Linked DNA regions of Homo sapiens: all the other regions are linked to region 4. Evidence: promoter capture Hi-C in 16 types of primary human blood cells and fetal thymus (Javierre and others, 2016). All regions are on one chromosome and are shown on one strand. The core of a region is centred on a gene start or on the middle of the fragment in contact, and the rest is flanking DNA. Distances in the headings are between cores, read along the strand shown. Region 1 overlaps PPP1CC (protein phosphatase 1 catalytic subunit gamma). Region 2 has its middle 12 kb from the start of TCTN1. Region 3 holds the start of UBE3B (ubiquitin protein ligase E3B). Region 4 holds the start of GIT2 (GIT ArfGAP 2).

What was found. The method cuts DNA at HindIII sites, captures the fragments that hold promoters and counts their contacts. A CHiCAGO score of 5 or more calls a contact.
Region 1: a contact is called between a fragment that was not itself captured here and the fragment with the promoter of GIT2 in region 4, in 2 of 17 cell types (fetal thymus and total CD8 T cells). The highest score is 7.0, in fetal thymus.
Region 2: a contact is called between a fragment that was not itself captured here and the fragment with the promoter of GIT2 in region 4, in 1 of 17 cell types (fetal thymus). The highest score is 6.6, in fetal thymus.
Region 3: a contact is called between a fragment that was not itself captured here and the fragment with the promoter of GIT2 in region 4, in 3 of 17 cell types (neutrophils, naive CD8 T cells and naive CD4 T cells). The highest score is 9.0, in neutrophils.

The regions. Positions count from the first base shown.
Region 1 is chr12:110,737,931-110,742,185 of GRCh38, forward strand. The region is part of intron 1 of PPP1CC (protein phosphatase 1 catalytic subunit gamma); the gene reads right to left. Among named protein-coding and RNA genes, the nearest start is that of PPP1CC, 2.8 kb to the right of the region's middle. The HindIII fragment of the contact is 1,457 bases long and covers 2,236-3,692 here.
Region 2 is chr12:110,599,334-110,604,076 of GRCh38, forward strand. No RefSeq gene overlaps it. Among named protein-coding and RNA genes, the nearest start is that of TCTN1, 12 kb to the right of the region's middle. The HindIII fragment of the contact is 416 bases long and covers 2,824-3,239 here.
Region 3 is chr12:109,477,404-109,481,827 of GRCh38, forward strand. It overlaps UBE3B (ubiquitin protein ligase E3B), which reads left to right and starts at 231. Exons shown (of 28, transcript NM_130466.4): 1 at 231-706; 2 at 4,234-4,339. RefSeq lists an enhancer at 54-143. The HindIII fragment of the contact is 2,401 bases long and covers 1,844-4,244 here.
Region 4 is chr12:109,994,608-109,998,696 of GRCh38, forward strand. It overlaps GIT2 (GIT ArfGAP 2), which reads right to left and starts at 1,761. Exons shown (of 20, transcript NM_057169.5): 1 at 1,566-1,761. The coding sequence starts at 1,617. RefSeq lists enhancers at 1,032-1,081, 1,772-1,931 and a silencer at 1,412-1,501. The HindIII fragment of the contact is 1,710 bases long and covers 427-2,136 here.

The DNA.
Region 1 (4,255 bases), core at 1,714-4,213, 740 kb after region 4:
AAAAGTGACACCATTTTTTTCAAGGCAGATAGGATGTGGCTGCAAAACACTGTCTACTGTTCTCAATAAAGCATCTTGAGTTTTCTACACCTCGAGTAAAGCCAATCCATTAAAAACTTTAATTTTCACAGTCTAAGAACACATTTCGGTAATATACCACTGAGTAGACTACATTTTGAGTTTTCATTTGCTGTAAGCTTTACTGTCGGTGATGACCACTACCTTCTAGAAGAGGGATGACAGTAAACCCCAGTGAAGTGGGGAAGCTGGAGATTTCAGACAAATCACCAAGATCCACAAACACATCATCTGTTCTTGATGCTTTGGATACAGAGGTATGATCTTAAAATATCAAACTCTATCCTGGAATTCCATAAGCTCCATGGAAATGAAATCCTTCCTTCTTGGTCTTGAATGACTTTCCAGTTCTTTATCTACAAAGCGACTGACACCCAGAATATTATCTCCTTCATATTTTAATCTCTCAGGTCAACTAATGGCCTCAATTGTAAATTAAGTTAAATGGTGAAGTCCACATAACATCAATAATTTCCCTGCTTCACCATCAGGAATCCTCACCTAGTCAAGTGGGCTGACTGGTACTGTGATTCTGCACAACAGGTTACAGGTTGTAATAGGACTGTGCTTTCAAAGACATCAAATCACCTCACTAATTTCTACAGCTGACCACTGCTGGGCTACAACTGCATGTCCATTTGCCCAGTTATGAGGAGGAACACCCTAGGCTCAGAATGCAGAGCGCTCCTGTGTGTCACATCCCCCGCAAGCACAACGTCACACACAATTCTGTCAGATTTCACTGCTGCCTCCTGCTACTGACAGGCAAGAGGGCACTGCGGGCACAAGGAGAGTAATCCTTTTTCAATGCTGTGGTTTAAAAAAGGACTCCTGCAAGCTGCAGATCATCTGTCTCCAACAGAGCTTTCCCACCTTGCCTAGGAGGAGAGGAAGTGGGCATATGACCAACATACTGATGGGAAAGGAAGGGCAAGGGCTCACATCAGAGTTCTTATCAATGAGGGAATTAGAAACTGACAACTTGGATGTGAGTGTAAAAATTACCTGCTCTGTAAACAAATAATTACAGGCTGGGCACGGTGGCTCATGCCTGTAATCCCAGCACTTTGGGAGTCTGAGGCGGGCAGACCACTTGAGGTCACGAGTTCAAAACCAGCCTGGCCTCATCTCTACTAAAAATACAAAAACTTGGCCGAGCGTGGTGGTGCATGCCTGTTAATCCCAGCTACTCAGGGGGCTGAGACACCAAAATCGCTTGAACCCGGGAGGCAGAGGTTGCAGTGAGCCAGGATCCCACCACTGCACTCCAGCCTGGGTGACAGAGTGAGACTCTGTCTCCAAAATAAAATAAAAAAATAAATAATTACAGGTGTTCATTAGGAAAGATTACTTTTGTTTTTTTTTTTGGTTAGCATATTAAGAAACCTTCCCCTTTTTAAACCATTATGTTTGTCCTTTATTATCTTTAGGACCAGGGATGGCTAAACACCAGAATATGAACGTTTTATACTGCATCAAAAAGATGAACATATGGGTTATTTAAACAATCTTAGAGTTTCAGAATATCTGAACACTCCCTACCTTCAGAACAACCCTTATGTATCAGAGGATTAAATCTGTAAGCACTTTCTGTGAGCCAGGGCAGAGATCATATTTAAATCACTAAAACAAGTCAGGCAATTCTGCAGAGCCTGACATGGTCTTGCACTTTGACAATGGCCTTCTTCAAAGCAAAGATGCTTCTTGCAAACCAAGATGTGAAGTAAGTTACAACCACCTGCTATGCAAAAAAAATGCTAGCCACCATGGCTCCTTGAAGGAGGTCATTTACAAAGTAAAACTGCCCCAAATCTCACTTGTCTTCAATACATCAGACCAAATCAACAGCTGGCTTATTTTCTCTCAAAATGCCGTTTTACTGTGTAGTTATTTAAATAACTAACATCAGTTATACTAAGGAGTTAACAACCTTAAGTTTTATCATCAGCAAGGCAGAGCTTGGATAAAAGCATCCATGGTGGGTTGCAGAGGTGATGCCTCGCTTACAGAAATACTCAGAGTTCAGAGAAGAAAAGAACTGCAAAGGTTAGTGACTAAGATCTAAACCAACATGCTGTTTTTCTTAAGACTTCACTTTTCAGTTAGCTTTTTAGTACTATTACTCAGCTACTTCTCAACTAGGTTATACTGCTCGCAAGCTTAAAAGATCAATTCTAAACACGTAAAAAAATCTGGCCAAAGTCACAAGTCATATTCCCTCTACTTTCAGATATACTTACATCTTATTTAGGGAAAAAAAAGGTTTTGGGGGCATTATGAAAAGAATAAAATTTAGGCCGGGCACGGTGGCTCATGACTATAACCCCAGCACCTGGGGAGGACGAGGTGCGAGGACTGCTTGAAACCAGGAGTTTGAGAACAGCCTGGGCAACACAGTGAGACTCTCATTTCTATTTTAAATTATTAAATTTAATTTTTTTAAATAAAAAATTGTAAAACAGAATTTATTACCAACATCATTTAACTTAGATATCTACATATCCTCAATGGATCATCTTCAACTGTTTCTCTGCCAATTTAACACCCACGAGAAAAAAAGAAATTTAAGTATACTTTGCAGTTAGCCTATTCCCAAGGCATTAAAATGCACTGCTTTATTAATTTCAGCAAAAAATGAAATATAAGAAAACCTGGTTTTCAAGTGCCACATAACAAGAGGAACTATTAAGAAACAATGATCTCATTTTAGATGTATCATTACTTACCAGGCAAAGTACTTATTACAATTTTAAAGATCAAAATTAACAAAAGCTGTTTATGAATAGAGGCAGTTATGGGCAAACCAGAACTTAAATTAGCAAGCCTTAGATGATCTTAAAATTCTAATGTTTCTAATCCATGCAAATTCCAACTTTTCCTGTTTCCTCAGAGAAATAAAGCCACACATATCCCTGCAGAGATAAGCAGAATTTTAAAATTTAGAAAGAAAATATTTAACAAAAAGTTCCTTTCTTACAGCAAACTATTTTAATCAGTTTCTGACCAACTGCTGCCTCGAATAAATTAAAGAACTATATTAACTAGTATGAAAAAGTATGGTTCTTATATAAATACCTGGCATTAAAAGAATGACAAGGTTTTCACCTACAATACAAGGTTTTCACCTGCAATAACATTTCAAGAGCATTTCAGGGGTCCTTAATGACATTTAGTGTTTTTTTTGTTGTTTTTTTTTTAAAGACAGCATAAAAGGAAAGAATGCACAGATTAAGAAAAGGACGAGATATTTTCAGGAGCTTCATTTTAATAACTTACTTTAAAAGATCTGTAAATTCTAACACCAGAGCTGTCCAACTGTTCATGCCCTCGACTCCACCACTCACAGCATTTATAGTCCAACAATATTTTAGGACTGTATAAAGGCAAAAAGCAGTTGAAACTGCCAAGTTCCCATTATGAAGTGTCCAAGTTAGGGGATATGACTGAATTCTTACAAAGTCTTGGATAAGATGTTAGCATCCGTTGACATGCCCTTGAATCTGAAAGCAGCTCATTTCAGCTTCCGTCTTTAAAAGCTGAACCTCGCCCCTCTCCCACATCAACATGAATCAATTGCCAGGCACCTCACAAGTCTTAGATGAGCCGAAATTTAAAGCTTTCTATTAACCTTTACTTAACCACTGGCCACCTTCCTTCCTACATAAGGTGACAGTGTTGTCTGTAGAGGGTTCTAGCTCCCGGCTATGTGGATTTGAAATCCAACTGTCACTAACTGTGTGACCTTGGTTAAGTGACTTCATCTCAGTTTCTTCTGTAAAATAACAAAAACAAAAAAAATTGCAAATATCTTGCAATGGGTGGGAGAATTAAATGAAATCTGTCTTAAGTGCTCAAAGAATGCCTGACACACAGTAAGCGCTTTAGAAGCGTCAGTTATGATTACAGTAATAATTCATGGACGCAAAGTGCTTAAGACAGAGCCTGGCACATTGGAAAGATAATGATAGCGTCAGCCTCGTTGGCTTCCTCTTCAGATGCACGCTCAGGAAAAGAGCGCGGAGACCTCTCCAAGATTAGAACAACTTAAAAGGATTTGGAGGGCAGGCGAAGACAGGTTCTCACACCTCTTGAGACATGAACGCTTGTTACCAAGTAACAAGAAATGGGCCCCCCAAGACCCCAGAACCACGAAAAATAAAAATAAAAGCAAGCAGGA
Region 2 (4,743 bases), core at 1,782-4,281, 610 kb after region 4:
TGGCATGAGCCCGGAGGTGGAGGTTGCAGTCAGCCAAGATTGCACCATTGTACTCCAGCCTGGGTGACAGAATGAGACCCCATCTCACACAAAACAAAAAACAAAACAAACAAATATAGAATTGACACGTCAGAAAAGTATTCTACTTGTCTAAGAGGAAACAGTCGGATGGTGAAGTTGGTTCAGAGAATGTTTTGAAGAAGTAGGTACTTGAGGAAGTGGGAATTTTAGATACAAAACTGGTTAATCTTCTGCAGGGTAATAAGAACTATAAGCTATGGGATTCTCTTTTGTACTGGAGAGAAATAATTCAAAACTCTACTGGACAAGGCCAGGAACAGTGGCTCATGCCTGTAATCCCAGCATTTTGGGAGGCCGAGGCAGGCAGATCACTTGAAGTCAGGAGCCTGAGACGGTAAAACCCCATCTCTACTAAAAAAAAAAAAAAAAAAAAATTAGCTGGTGGAGCATGCCTGTAGTCCCAGCTACTCGGGAGGCTGAGGCAGAAGAATTGCTTGAACCCAGGAGGTGGAGGTTGCAGTGAGCTGAGATCATGCCACTGCACTCCAGCCTAGGCAACAGAGTGAGACTCCATCTCAAAAACAAAAACAAACAAAAAACAACCAAAAACTGTACTGGACAAAAATCTGGGCCTTTAATCAATCAATACCTATGCAAACAAAGGAACAGTCCCTGGCCTATATAAGTAGTTGGTGGGCTACATCTGGCCTGGCTGCTTGTGTTTGTAATAAGATTTTAATTTTATTATTTTTAAAAATAAGAGATGGGGTCACACTATGTTGGTCTTGAACTCTTGGCCTCAAGCAATCCTCCCGCCTCGGCCGCCCAAAGTGCTGGGATTACAGGTGTGAGCCACCATGCCCGGCCTAAAATACAGTTTTATTGGAACACAGCCATACCCAATTATTTCTGTATCTCCCCAGGATGCTTTTGCTGTACAGAAATGGTGGACCATGATGACCGATAGAGTTGAGTAGTTGACAGATAGGAACCAGCCACAAAGCCTAAAATATTTACTACCTGGACCTTTACAGAAAGAGTTTGCTGATCCCTGCTAGAGAATTAAGTAATCTTTGGGTGAGCTTGTGAAACAAAGTCCTTGATGACATTGAAAGAACTACACTGCCCTCTCTTGGTCTTATTTCCAAAATTTGGATAATTTTTCTTAAAAAGGAGATGTTTGGTTTAAAAATTGGTGGGGCATTTTGAATTGTTATCCGTGGTCTGTATTTCCTAAATCTTCCCGTTCACTCACCCCATAACCCTGCCACCCTCTTTCTACATTGGCGACAATGCCTCTTAGTATCTGTCAAACTTGCATAACGAGATTTAGAAAATATGATTAAGTACAGAGTTTATTCAAGTGCAAGGTTTGAGGATGATCACCTGCGAAACACATACTCCAAAGGAATGGGATCAGTGTTGGAAAGAGAGGAAGCTAAGGTTTCACTTATATAGATAGAAACAGTTGCAGCTGAGTTGCAACATTTTCCATCCAAGGCCCATATGTATGTTACAGTCATTTGATTAAAACAGCTTGCTACATTTCAAGGAAGATGCTTTAACATTCTATGAAGAGGAGTAATGTCCTGAGAGGGTCTTATCTCTGGTGCTAGTGGGTCATTTCTTTCTTTTTTTTTTTCTTGAGATGGAGTTTCCCTCTGTCATCCAGGCTGGAGTGCAGTGGCGTGATCTTGGCTCACTGCAACCTCCGCCTCCTGGGTGCAAGTGATTCTCCTGCCTCAGCCTCCTGAGTAGCTGGGATTACAGGCCTGTGCCACCATGCCTGGCTATTTTTTTTTTTTGGTAGAGACAGGGTTTCCCCATGTTGGTCAGGCTGGTCTTGAACTCCTGACCTTGTGATCTGTCTGCCTCGGCCTCCCAAAATGCTGGGATTACAGGCGTGAGCCACTGTGTATTGCCCAGGCTTGAGTGCAGTGGTGCAATCTCAGCTCACTGCAACCTCTGCCTCCTGAGTTCAAGCAATTCTTCTGCCTCAGCCTCCCAAGTAGCTGGGATTACAGGTGCCCACCACCACGCCCAATTTTTATATTTTTAGTAGAAACGGGGTTTCGCCATATTGGCCAGGCTGGTCCCCAGCTCCTGATCTCAAGTGATTTGCCTGTCTTGGCCTCCCAAAGTGCTGGGATTACAGGCGTGAGCCACCGCACCCGGCCTACTGGGTCATTTCTAATCATTTACAGGACAAGCAGAAGTTGCAACTGCATACTACATGGCCACATTCCTCTCAAGGCTCAGAAGAAAGTTCCAGCAGCTTTAAGTTTGAATTATTTAATTTAAAATATCCCAGCTCTTGGCTGGGCACGGTGGCTCACACCTGTAATCCCAGCACTTTGGGAGGCCGAGGCAGGTGGATCACCTGAGCTCAGGAGTTCGAGACCAGCCTGCCAACATGGCAAAACCCTGTCTCTAATAAAAATGCAAAAATTAGCCAGGCATGGTGGTGGGCGCCTGTAGTCCCAGCTACTCGGGAGGTTGAGACATGAGAATCATTTAAACTTGGGAGGCAGAGGTTGCAGTGAGCCTATATTGGGCCACTGCACTGCAGCCAGGGCAACAGAGTGAGACTCCATCTCAAAATAAATAAATAAATAATAAAATAAAATATCCCAGCTCTTTCCTCTGAGGGTGGAACTTATGAAAGGCTCTTTTTAAGTGCAGGTAGGCCTGGAAAGCAATTGGTGGTGAGTAATGTCCTTTGCAACATCGTTTTTGCTCGAGAAGGCATTCTGTTTCTGACTCCTGTTAAGGCTTCTGTAACTGAAGGCCCATTCTCATGGAAGCTTTCCTTGGGAGGGCCCCTCAGCTCCTTAGAATGAAGCTCTAGAACTGTTGGAAGTTCTGAGAGGGCAATGCTGGTGCCTGCTTGACCACTGCTGTTTCTGGGTCCGGGCACATAGTAGGTGCTCAGTAAATATTTGTTGAGTGAACTAGAGCCAATGAAAGAATAGCATTTTGTCCTCTGCTCCGGGTCAACCCTGTGAGAGGAACCAAGTTTTGGTGACAAAGGCTGCCATCTGCAGGGAATAGGTGAAATGGCATTATTCAGAATTGCTAAATCCTGAGGACCATACAATCGATTTTGAGGCAAGATTAACATATATTTTCTCCTTTCGCTTTCTGGAGAATTAACATCATCTTGTCTTTTCCAATTAAGGAAACCTGAATCCTGCACCCTTTCTCAAATAACATTTTTAAGCTTTTATTTATTTATTTATTTTTTAAGACGGAGTCTTGCTCTGTCACCCAGGCTGGAGTGAAGTGGCGTGATCTCGGCTCACTGCAACCTCCGCCTCCCGGGTTCAAGCAATTCTCTTGCCTCAGCCTCCTGAGTAGCTGGGACTACAGGTGTGTACCACCACGCCCGGCTAATTTATTGTATTTTTAGTAGAGACAGGGTTTCACCGTGTTAGCCAGGATAGTCTCGATCTCCTGACTTCATGATCCGCCTGCCTCGGCCTCCCAAAGTGCTGGGATTACAGGCGTGAGCCACCAAGCCTGGACAGCTTTTGTTGTCTTTTAAATGGAGACAGGGTTTTGCTCTGTCACCCAGGCTGAAGTGCAGTAGCATGATCATAGCTCACTGCAGCTTCCAACTCCAGGGCTCAAGCGATCCTCCCATTTCAGCCTCCCGAGTAGCTAGGACTGGTGTGTGGCAACACATCTGGCTAATTTGTTTTTGTTTTTTTGTGGAGAAAGAGTCTTGCTATATTGTCCAGGCTGCATTTTAAAGCTTTTTGAGGGCTTAGTTAGCCATGCTGCATACTGTATACACCATGCTGTATGCACAAAACTGGTACCTAAGTACCACTATTTCCCTGTTTTATAGACGAAGAATCTGAACACAGAAAGCATGCCCAAAGTTATAGTGCTAGCAAGTGGCAGAACTAGGGATTTGAACCCAAACACTGTGGCTTCAGAAAGTGTGCTCGTTTTCTCTTTTCTTTTCTTTCCTTCCTTCTTTCTTTTTTTTTTTTTTTTTAAGACAGAGTCTCACTCTGTCACCCAGGCTGGAGTGCAGAGGCAATCTCAGCTCACTGCAACCTCTGCCTCCCGGGTTCAAGGGATTCTCGTGCCTCAGCCTCCCAAGTAGCTGTGACTACAGGCGCCCGCCACCAGGCCCCAGTAATTTTTGTATTTTTTAAACATTTTTCAGTAGAGAAAGGGTTTCACCATGTTGGCCAGGCTGGTCCGGAACTCCTGACCTCAAGTGATCTGCTCGCCTTAGCGTCCCAAAATGCTGGGATTACAGGCGTGAGTCACTACGCCCGGCCCAGTAGACCTTTTTTTTTTTTTTTTTTTTTGAGACAGAATCACACTTTGTGGCCCAAGCTGGAGTGCAGTGGTGCGATTTCGGCTCACTGCAACCTCCACCTCCTAGGTTCAGGCAATTCTCCTGTCTTAGCCTCCCAAGTAGCTGGGATTACAGGTGCACACCACCACGCCCAGCTAATTTTTTTGCATTTTTAGTAGTGACGGGGTTTCACCATGTTTGCCAGGCTGGTTTTGAATTCCTGACCTCAAGCCATCCGCCCGTCTTGGCCTCCCAAAGTTCCAGGATTACAGGTGTGAGCTACCGTGCCTGGCCTAGATCTTCTTTTTAAAAGCAGTTTTAGGTTCACAGCAAAATTGAGCAGAAGGTACAGAGATATATCCCCTGGATCACACAGGCCTAGCCTCCCCCATTATAGAATCTGTGCT
Region 3 (4,424 bases), core at 1,794-4,293, 520 kb before region 4:
CGTCTTAAGCCGTCCGTTGTGCGCCTAGGGGCCAGTTTTCTTTCCAGCCTCCCCGGCCGGAGTGGGTTCCAGCTTTTCTCGGCTGGGGAGGGCATTTATCCCACCTCCGCTATTTCAGCTGCCAGAGGGGAGGCAAGGTGTGGGGAAGTTTTCCTTCCCGGGCGAAGAAGCTCTGCGGAACTGTCATTTTCCGGAACTGGATGCTTGCTTCCTGGCGGGGTTCTGAAAGCGAACACCGCGGGGCAAGATGGCGGTAGTGCGTCGGCTGCTGCCCCGGGTCTGGCAGAACTCGGGTGTTTTGGGCTGAGACAGTGGCAGCTGCGGCCCCGACCCCAAGTGCGGGGACCTCCGGCGAATAAAGGTCGGCCTGCGGGTAGGCCGGTAGGGCCTGCGGTCCGGCCTGCGGGAGAACTGGGTCGTCAGTCCTCCGAGTGGTGGGGCTGGGGACTTTGAGGGAGTTGGCTCTAGGGCACAGTCCCTGCCTGGCCAGGTCGGAGGAACAAGTGCTGGGATCTGGCGTGTGTGCTCCAGGGGCTCTTTCCGCGGCCCTTTCCACCTCTTTTCACTTTGGGGACGGTAGGCCTTTATAAACGGACTAATGCTGGGTGATTTGTTCCTGTGGTTGTTGATGCCGAGGAAAGACTCTGGGCCCCAGGACTCACCTAAACTGGAGTTCGAATACTGTTCGCTCGCTGTGTGACCTTGGGTGAGTTCCCTCACCTCTCTGAGCCTCAGTTTCCTTCTGTGTAAATGGAGTAATTAGCAGGTTTCACAGAGGGTGTGAATACGTTTTAGTACCGTGCCTGACACCTAGTTCTGAATAAAGAAAAACTTGATCGTAATTTAACTCCAGCTTAGCCCCCACAGGCAATCTTGCACTCTCAACTTCTCTTTGCTTGGCCATTCTGTGAACGGGGGAGCCCTGGATCTTGTTTGTTTTACTTAGTGATAAATAACTGTTTTGGATATACATGGATTCAGATTCAAAAGCATCCACCTTAGATAGGCTGTAGCTTTCAATAAATAGTAGCTGTTAATATGAATAGTCTCTTTAAGTCGTGTTTCCTATTCTTTAAATAAAAATTAGATTATTGAGGCTGGCCACGGTGGCTCACGCCTGTAATCCTAGCACTTTGGGAGGCCGAGGCGGGCGGATCACCTGAGGTCAGAAGTTCAAGACCAGCGTGGCCAACATGGTGAAACCGCATCTCTACTAAAAATACAAAAATTAGCCGGGCGTGGTGGCGGGCGCCTTTAATCCCAGCGACTTGGGAGGCTGAAGCAGGAGAATCACTTGAACCTGGGAGGCGGAGGTTGCAGTGAGCAGAGTTCGCGCCGCTGCACTCCAGCCTGGGCAACAAAGTGAGACTCCGTCTCAAAAAAACAAAGATTATCGAGAACTGATAGAGCTGTTGAAAAGACAAGTTGGTTAAATAATCTGTGCAGTGTCTGATACACCGTCTGCCCAGAACAAGTGGTGGTGGTCATTAAACCTGGTGGCCCAGCTTTTCCTACTGCACAGGGACAATCCTCTTGGCTTAGTCAGCAGTTGGTATTTATGATGCTTCAGCTTTGGAAATATAGAGGTAAGACAAGAGTCTGAATCCTGCCTCTTAGTTATTACAGCCTTGACTCTGCCACATACTAATGGTCTAGACTGGAGTAGATGAGATCATGAATGATCTTCTCATAGGACTCCTCTCCTTATTAGATGAGATCACTTATAAAGGACTTGACACATAATGGGCACTCATTTACTTTTTTAAATGATCTTGGTTATCACCAACCTCTTATTTTCTAATCTTTCTACCTATATGATTCTTGTTTCCCTAACTAGATTGCAAGCTTCTTAAGGACAATACAATAAAGCTCACTTACATGCTACATGCTTTTAGATATCCTATATTAATATTTTCCCATTTAATCCTAATCACAATGTTGTGATGACTAAATTGAGGTACAAGAAGGATAAATGTTGCATTTAATCCTTTCAGCAACCCTAGGACATAGACACTATTATTACCCTCGATTTACACATAAGGAAACTGAGGCCTAGAGAGGATAAGTAACTTGGCCAAATGTCGGATAGAAGGAGTACTAAAAAGAACCAAGGCCCGCTTTCTCTGATGCAAGACTTTTTCTGCTGCGCACAGCCTTTTCTTTGGTTCTCCATGGCATTTAGCAAAATAAGTACTTAATAAACACTTGATTGTGTGTTTTATTAATTGACGAACTATAGTATACACTGTGCAGGTGGAGAAGGTATATAGGAAAGGATGAGAAAAACTGTAAAGTGTAGGCTATTATATGATATGAACAGAAATCAACCAATAACATTGCTGAAGGGATAATAATCTCAAGGAAGGGGATAAGAGTAATTTCTTATTCTGGGAGGGCCCCTGGGAGAAGTGAAAGTTTTAAGATCGTCTTACAGTGCTTAGGTACAGTTTGCATGCAACTTTGTTTTTCTTTTGGGAAGAGGCTCCCTCTTCCCCTTCTAATTCCATGGACCCTCTGCCATTGAGGCACTGTCTGCATGTCATGGAGGGAGCATATCATTGTGCTTGTGGCTTGGGCCCTGCTCTTTTGCAGTCCTGAGGAGCTTGAATCTGTTACTCACTCTAAACAACAGGGCCAGGAGTTCATAGCCCAAGGGACAGGACTGGTGAATCTTAGTGCATTTAAGATAGGAAAAAAGTTAATGGGTGAGAAATGTCAGACTGCCAGCATTATTTCCTACCCAGAGAACCTTAGTAACTGTCCAGGTGGGAGCCTCTGCTGAAGAGTTTTTTTTTTTTTTTAATCCTTGTGTCTATAAAAATAATACACCAGTTAGACTTCCTGACTATACACTCTACAATGTGCACTCAAGTACCTCCATAGGTACCTGATAAGCATCATCACATTTAGTCCTCATTATCAACCTCTAAGCCAATTAATAGATGAAGATGGAAAGACTCAGGGCCCAGTGTGGTGGCTCATACCTGTAATCCTAACATTTTGGGAGGCCAAGGCAGGAGGATCTCTTGAGCCCAGGAGTTTGAGACCACCAACCTGGGCAATATAGCGAGACCCCACCTCTACAAAAAATTTAAAAACTAGCCAGATGTGGTGGTATGTACCTGTGGTCCCAGCTACTTGAGAAGCTGAGGTGGGAGAATCGCTTGAGCCTGGGAGGTAGAAGCTGCAATGAACCATGATTGCACCACTGCACTCCAGCTTGGATGACAGAGCGAGACCCTGCCTTAAAAAAAAAAAAAAGACTTAGACATTCTCCCTATAGTATGTGGCAGAGCTAGGGACTGGCTCCAACTCTGTGTGACTCCCAAAGCCCGTGTGCCCCTCACTGTGCAGTGCTGCTTCACCATGTGCATGCTGTGGAAAATTTAGAAAATACAGACCAATTAAGAAAAATTTCCCGCAATTTCAGTACCTCAAAACAGCCACTGGTAACATGTTGGTATAGTTCATGCTAGTTTTGTATCTGTGTGTGTGTACATTTTTCTTTAGGTAATTGGGGTCTTATTGGTCCACAGGCAGCCCTTTATTCACTTCTAAGGCATAAACGTTTTTCCATTATCATTAAAAATGTCAAACACGCTGAGGCAGGAGAATGGCATGAACCCGGGAGGCGGAGCTTGCAGTGAGCCAATATCGCGCCACTGCACTCCAGCCTGGGCGACAGAGCAAGACTCCGTCTCAAAAAAAAAAAAAAAAATGTCAAACATGGCCGGGCACAGTGGCTCACACCTGTAACCCCAACTGAGATAGGGTATGGTGGCACACACCTGTAATCCCAGCTACTTGGGAGGCTGAAGCAGGAGAATCGCTTGAACCTGGGAGCAGAAGTTATAGTGAGCTGAAATTATGCCGCTGCACTCCAACCTCAGCGACAGAGTGAGACTATCTCAAAAAAAAAAAAAAGGAAAATGTCAAATATAATTTTCAGTAGCTCTTTAACATTCCATGACCTCTAAGTTATTTTGCTTCCCATCACAGCTGTAATTCAACAACAACTTTGGGATTTATTTTCAACATATTCCCTTTAAACTGTGAGGATTGAAGAGATACAGTATAACATTTAGATGAGACATTAAATAAAGAGGACCCAGTGGTGTTTTTAAAAAACCATTGGCATTGTAGTTACTACTTTTACTCAGTGAGGAAGATGTATGATACCACACCTATAAAATTTAACCCTAAGTCTGGATTTTTTTCTTCTGCTTCTGCCAGAAAAAATAACAAGCTTTTCTGAAGTGAGAAGCTGTTCTCAGCCACGAGTCCTGTGCAAGATCACTAATGATTACCTGGCATTTCTGCGACACAGGCAGGTCCTCAGGTGAGATCTCCAGACTTTACTGCTGGGGCAGGAAGCGTAAATGATTCAGAAGATGGCTACCGTTTCTCTCCAAGCCTTTTATAAG
Region 4 (4,089 bases), core at 511-3,010:
ACTAAAGCGATACAATGGAAGAGAAAATGTTCTGAAATGCACAAAATGCTGCAAAAGTATATTTAGGATGGCAATGGAGGAACAATTTTGCTTTGCCCTGTACCCTATCAAGAAGCAAAACAATATGCATTCCAAGAGGAAGTTAGAAGCTAGACACATGTGAATCAAATACATCACGGTAAGTTCAACTGAAAATAGGCAAGAAAATAAGGAAGTGGAACAAATAACATTTTTAGAGAAAATGATGGAGTTTGTATAACTCACACTAACTTGGTTTAGAAAACACTTCTTTTTAAACTCCTCCATACCCCCTCCCTATCTTCAAAGGAAACTGGTAACACCTGCACTGTACGGGCCATAAAACAACCACATGAGGTTTGAGTTATCACAGTTCTATTTACAATTGGTCTCCACTTCCAAATGACAAGCTTAAGATCAGAACAGTTGCAAAGCCAGTGGTGTTCAATGATTTAATTAAGATTGTTTATCGGACACTATTGTGCCAAGAAAGCCATGTTACCTTCGAATTAACTCAAAGCCAATACATCCAAGCACCTAAAACAGCATGTAATAATCTATCCAGAGACCTGACAATTCAGTTGCAATTGCTAAGACACACTTGATCTCTAAATGTGAATATTATGTATGAACAGTTATGCATCATTATGAAGGAATGGCTTTAGCGTTTCAATGCCCCTATATTGCTGGTGATTTTGCGTTTGTTTCCGTTGTAATCAACGTATGATTTAGATAGTCAAATATAGCTTTAAGGGACTACAAGAGTTCTACTGTAGACAGCATAATGCAAAAAAGAAAAGCCTTAGATGATATGATTCTACGAGTATTCATTGAATCTTCCTCACCACTAAGCGTGATACTCCCGATTATCCTCATTGAAAAAAATGAGGAAATCAAGCAAGTGACCAAGTGAAGTCACCAGCCCAAGGTCAGCCAGAAGCAAAATCTAGTTTGAACCCAGGCCGTTCAGATCCTCAAACTTGAGACAAGCACTGCCTCCTAAGTGCTGGTTGTGTTTGGAAGACCCCGATCTCCTGGCAATTCTCCCGGGCAGAGTAGCTGTCGGATGTCAGCAGCGGGGAAGTCATCTACGGGGACCCTCTGGCGAGTCTCAGGGAGTGTCATCCTCCCCGGGCAGGACACCCAGGCGGAGAAAGGGTCTAGTGGGAGGTGACACCTGCAGCCTCTGGAGGCTGCAGCCGGGAGGACGCTCACATTTTACTTCTGTAATTGGCTTTCCTGTGGATTGCCCAAGCCCCTTCCTGTTGGGGGAGCAGCCCTGGCCCCCGTCACCTCCCCAGTTGGCCTAGGACGGAGGGAACGGGAGGGAACGAGAGGGAAGGGAGGGCCGCGAGGGACGGGGAGGGCGGCGGCCCCCTGCCCGCCCGGCTCTGACAGGCCCGGGACGGTTCCCACCCCAAGGCCGCCCAGGGACCTCTTCGTTGCGACCCTAGCCGCGGGATGCAGCCTGACCTGAGGGGGCGGCCCCGGGGTAGGGGTCCGGGCCAGGAAAGCAGAGGGGAGCGGGCCCGGCCGGTGCGACTCACCCGGCCCGCTGCAGTCAGCGCACACCTCGCTGCTCCGGAGCCGTTTCGACATGGCTCCCACCTCCCACCTGCGGGGAACTAGAGGCCGGGGGACAGCAAAGGCGGCGGTGGCGGCGGCGCTTCCGCTCTAACGGGTCCCAGCTGCGGCGGCGCTGACGGCGGCGCCTCTCCCCTCAGCGCCTTGCAGCCTTGGCACAGCACGCACGCGCGGGGAGGTGCCCTTCGGCGAGTGTCAGGTCATGTGACCGGAAAGGGCACTCTGCCTTGTCGCCATCTTGAGTGAGGGCAGGAGACTGCCCGAGTATCATCTGTCCTACCTTTAAATATTGAATTTGGGTCTTCTTCTCTGGCAGAGATTCCCCTCGTCCCAACTGATTAATACCAGGGGAAGTAGCAATATCTTGTGATGAGAACCCTGCAGCCACAACCTTCCTGAGGCAATCAATGGTCAAGTTCATTCATTCATTCCTTGATTCAACAAATGTTTATCAAGCACTTACCATGCTTTATATACTGTCCCAGCCACTGGAGAAACAGCAGTGAGCAAAGACTGAATTTCTAGTCCTTATGAAGCTTGCATTTTACTGGGGTAAAGTAAAATAAGAATATATTATATGATTCCAGGCTGGGCGTGGTGGCTCACTCTTGTAATCTCAACTCTTTGGAAGGCTGAGGCAGGAGGATCACTTGAGGCAGGAGTTCGAGACCAGCCTGGGCAACATGGTGAAACCCCATCTCTACTAAAAATACAAAAATTGGCCGGGCGCGGTGGCTCACGCCTGTAATCCCAGCACTTTGGGAGGCCGAGGCGGGTGGATCACGAGGTCAGGAGTTCAAGACCAGCCTGGCCAACATGGTGAAACCCCGTCTCTACTAAAAATACAAAAATTAGCCGGGCACAGTGGCAGGAGCCTGTAATCTCAGTTACTTGGGAGGCTGAGGCAGGAGCTTGAACCCAGGGGGTGGAGGTTGCAGTGAGCTGAGATCACGCCATTGCACTCCAGCATGGGCGACAGAGTGAGACTCCGTCTCAAAAAAAAAAAAAAAAAAAAAAAAATTAGCCGGGCGTGGTGGCGCATGCCTGTAATCCTAGATACTCAGGAGGCTGAGGCATGAGAATCGCTTGAGCCTGGGAGGTGGACGTTGCAGTGAGCAGAGATCGCGTCACTGCACTCCAGCCTGGGGGACAGAGCGAGACTGTCTCAAAAACAACTTCAACAACAACAACAAAAATAACAAAAAAGAATATATTAGATGATTCCTTAGGCTTCAGTTTTAATCTCATGTTCAAAATTAAGATAATGCATTGTTTACTTCTAGTCCACGATTTGTTTTTGTATGGCTTGCTACTTAAGAATGATTTTTACATTTTTAAAGGGTTGCGAGATGAAAATGAAGAAGAGAGAGAGGGAAATAAAGAAAAAGAGGAAGAAGAATATGCGACAAAACTTGTATGTGACCAGCAAAGTTAAACATTCATTTTGGCTAAGGACAGATGGAATAAATTATGGGAAAAATGTGATACACCTGCTGGATAGTAACCCCTCAGTAAATAGTAGCTCCCATAATTATGGATATTGCTATTATTTTCTAATTACTGTTTTTCTTCATATGCGTGGAATTTGAGAATAACAATAGCTAACATGGGATAATTTACAAAATGGTGTGAGATAAACACAATGAAATGAGGTAAATCAGTGTGAAGGAGAAAGGAGATGTGACCCTAATACCAATGACTACTTATTGTCTGTCTTACATATAAACACAGCTATGATCTCCATTCAGCAAATATTGAATGCCTGTTGTTAGCCAGGTACTATTTTGGTTTTAGATACTCTGGTAAGCAAAACGATGTGGTTCCTGTCATTATGGGGTTTTCTGATTAATGAGATAGGGAGATTTTCAATAAACACGGCATGATGAAGAAGAAGGAGAACGTTAAGTTGCAAAAGGCATCTGAAAGAATGAGAAGTGCTGGAAAAGGCCTCAGAAGCACTGGTCTTGAGTCCATCTCTACAGTGTGATAAATGTGTGATGGAGAAATAATCACAGAATTCCCACGCATTCCATGGTTAGAGTCTCCGGGTGCCATCCTGGTGCTCCTGCATCCTGTTTTGGTTTAACAACTCACAAATCTTCTGGGCTCCACATCTGTGGAGAATGGATTAGGTTGGGATTCTTGAACAGCTGTTGTTGCAGGCATCTGAAGAGCTGGATGTGCATACACTCAGAGGGCAGAGGGAATGTTTTCACAATGCATTAAATAGCTTCATCCAGCTATGTGGTCTAGTTGTAGACAGCTGAGCTGAAGCAGCAGCAGAAAGTTCAAGCCCATGAGTAGCTAGCTGTAAGTTGATTTGGTTCTTCATTGAGTCAAGGAGGCATAGTGCCTGAAACTCAAAGAATAAACTTCATATTCGCAGACTGTGGTCAAATATGTATATTATTTATCAGTCCTTTCAGCCATAACCTCAAATCCAAAAAGCTAGCTTAAAAATGACATTCATACATGGACTAAATCACC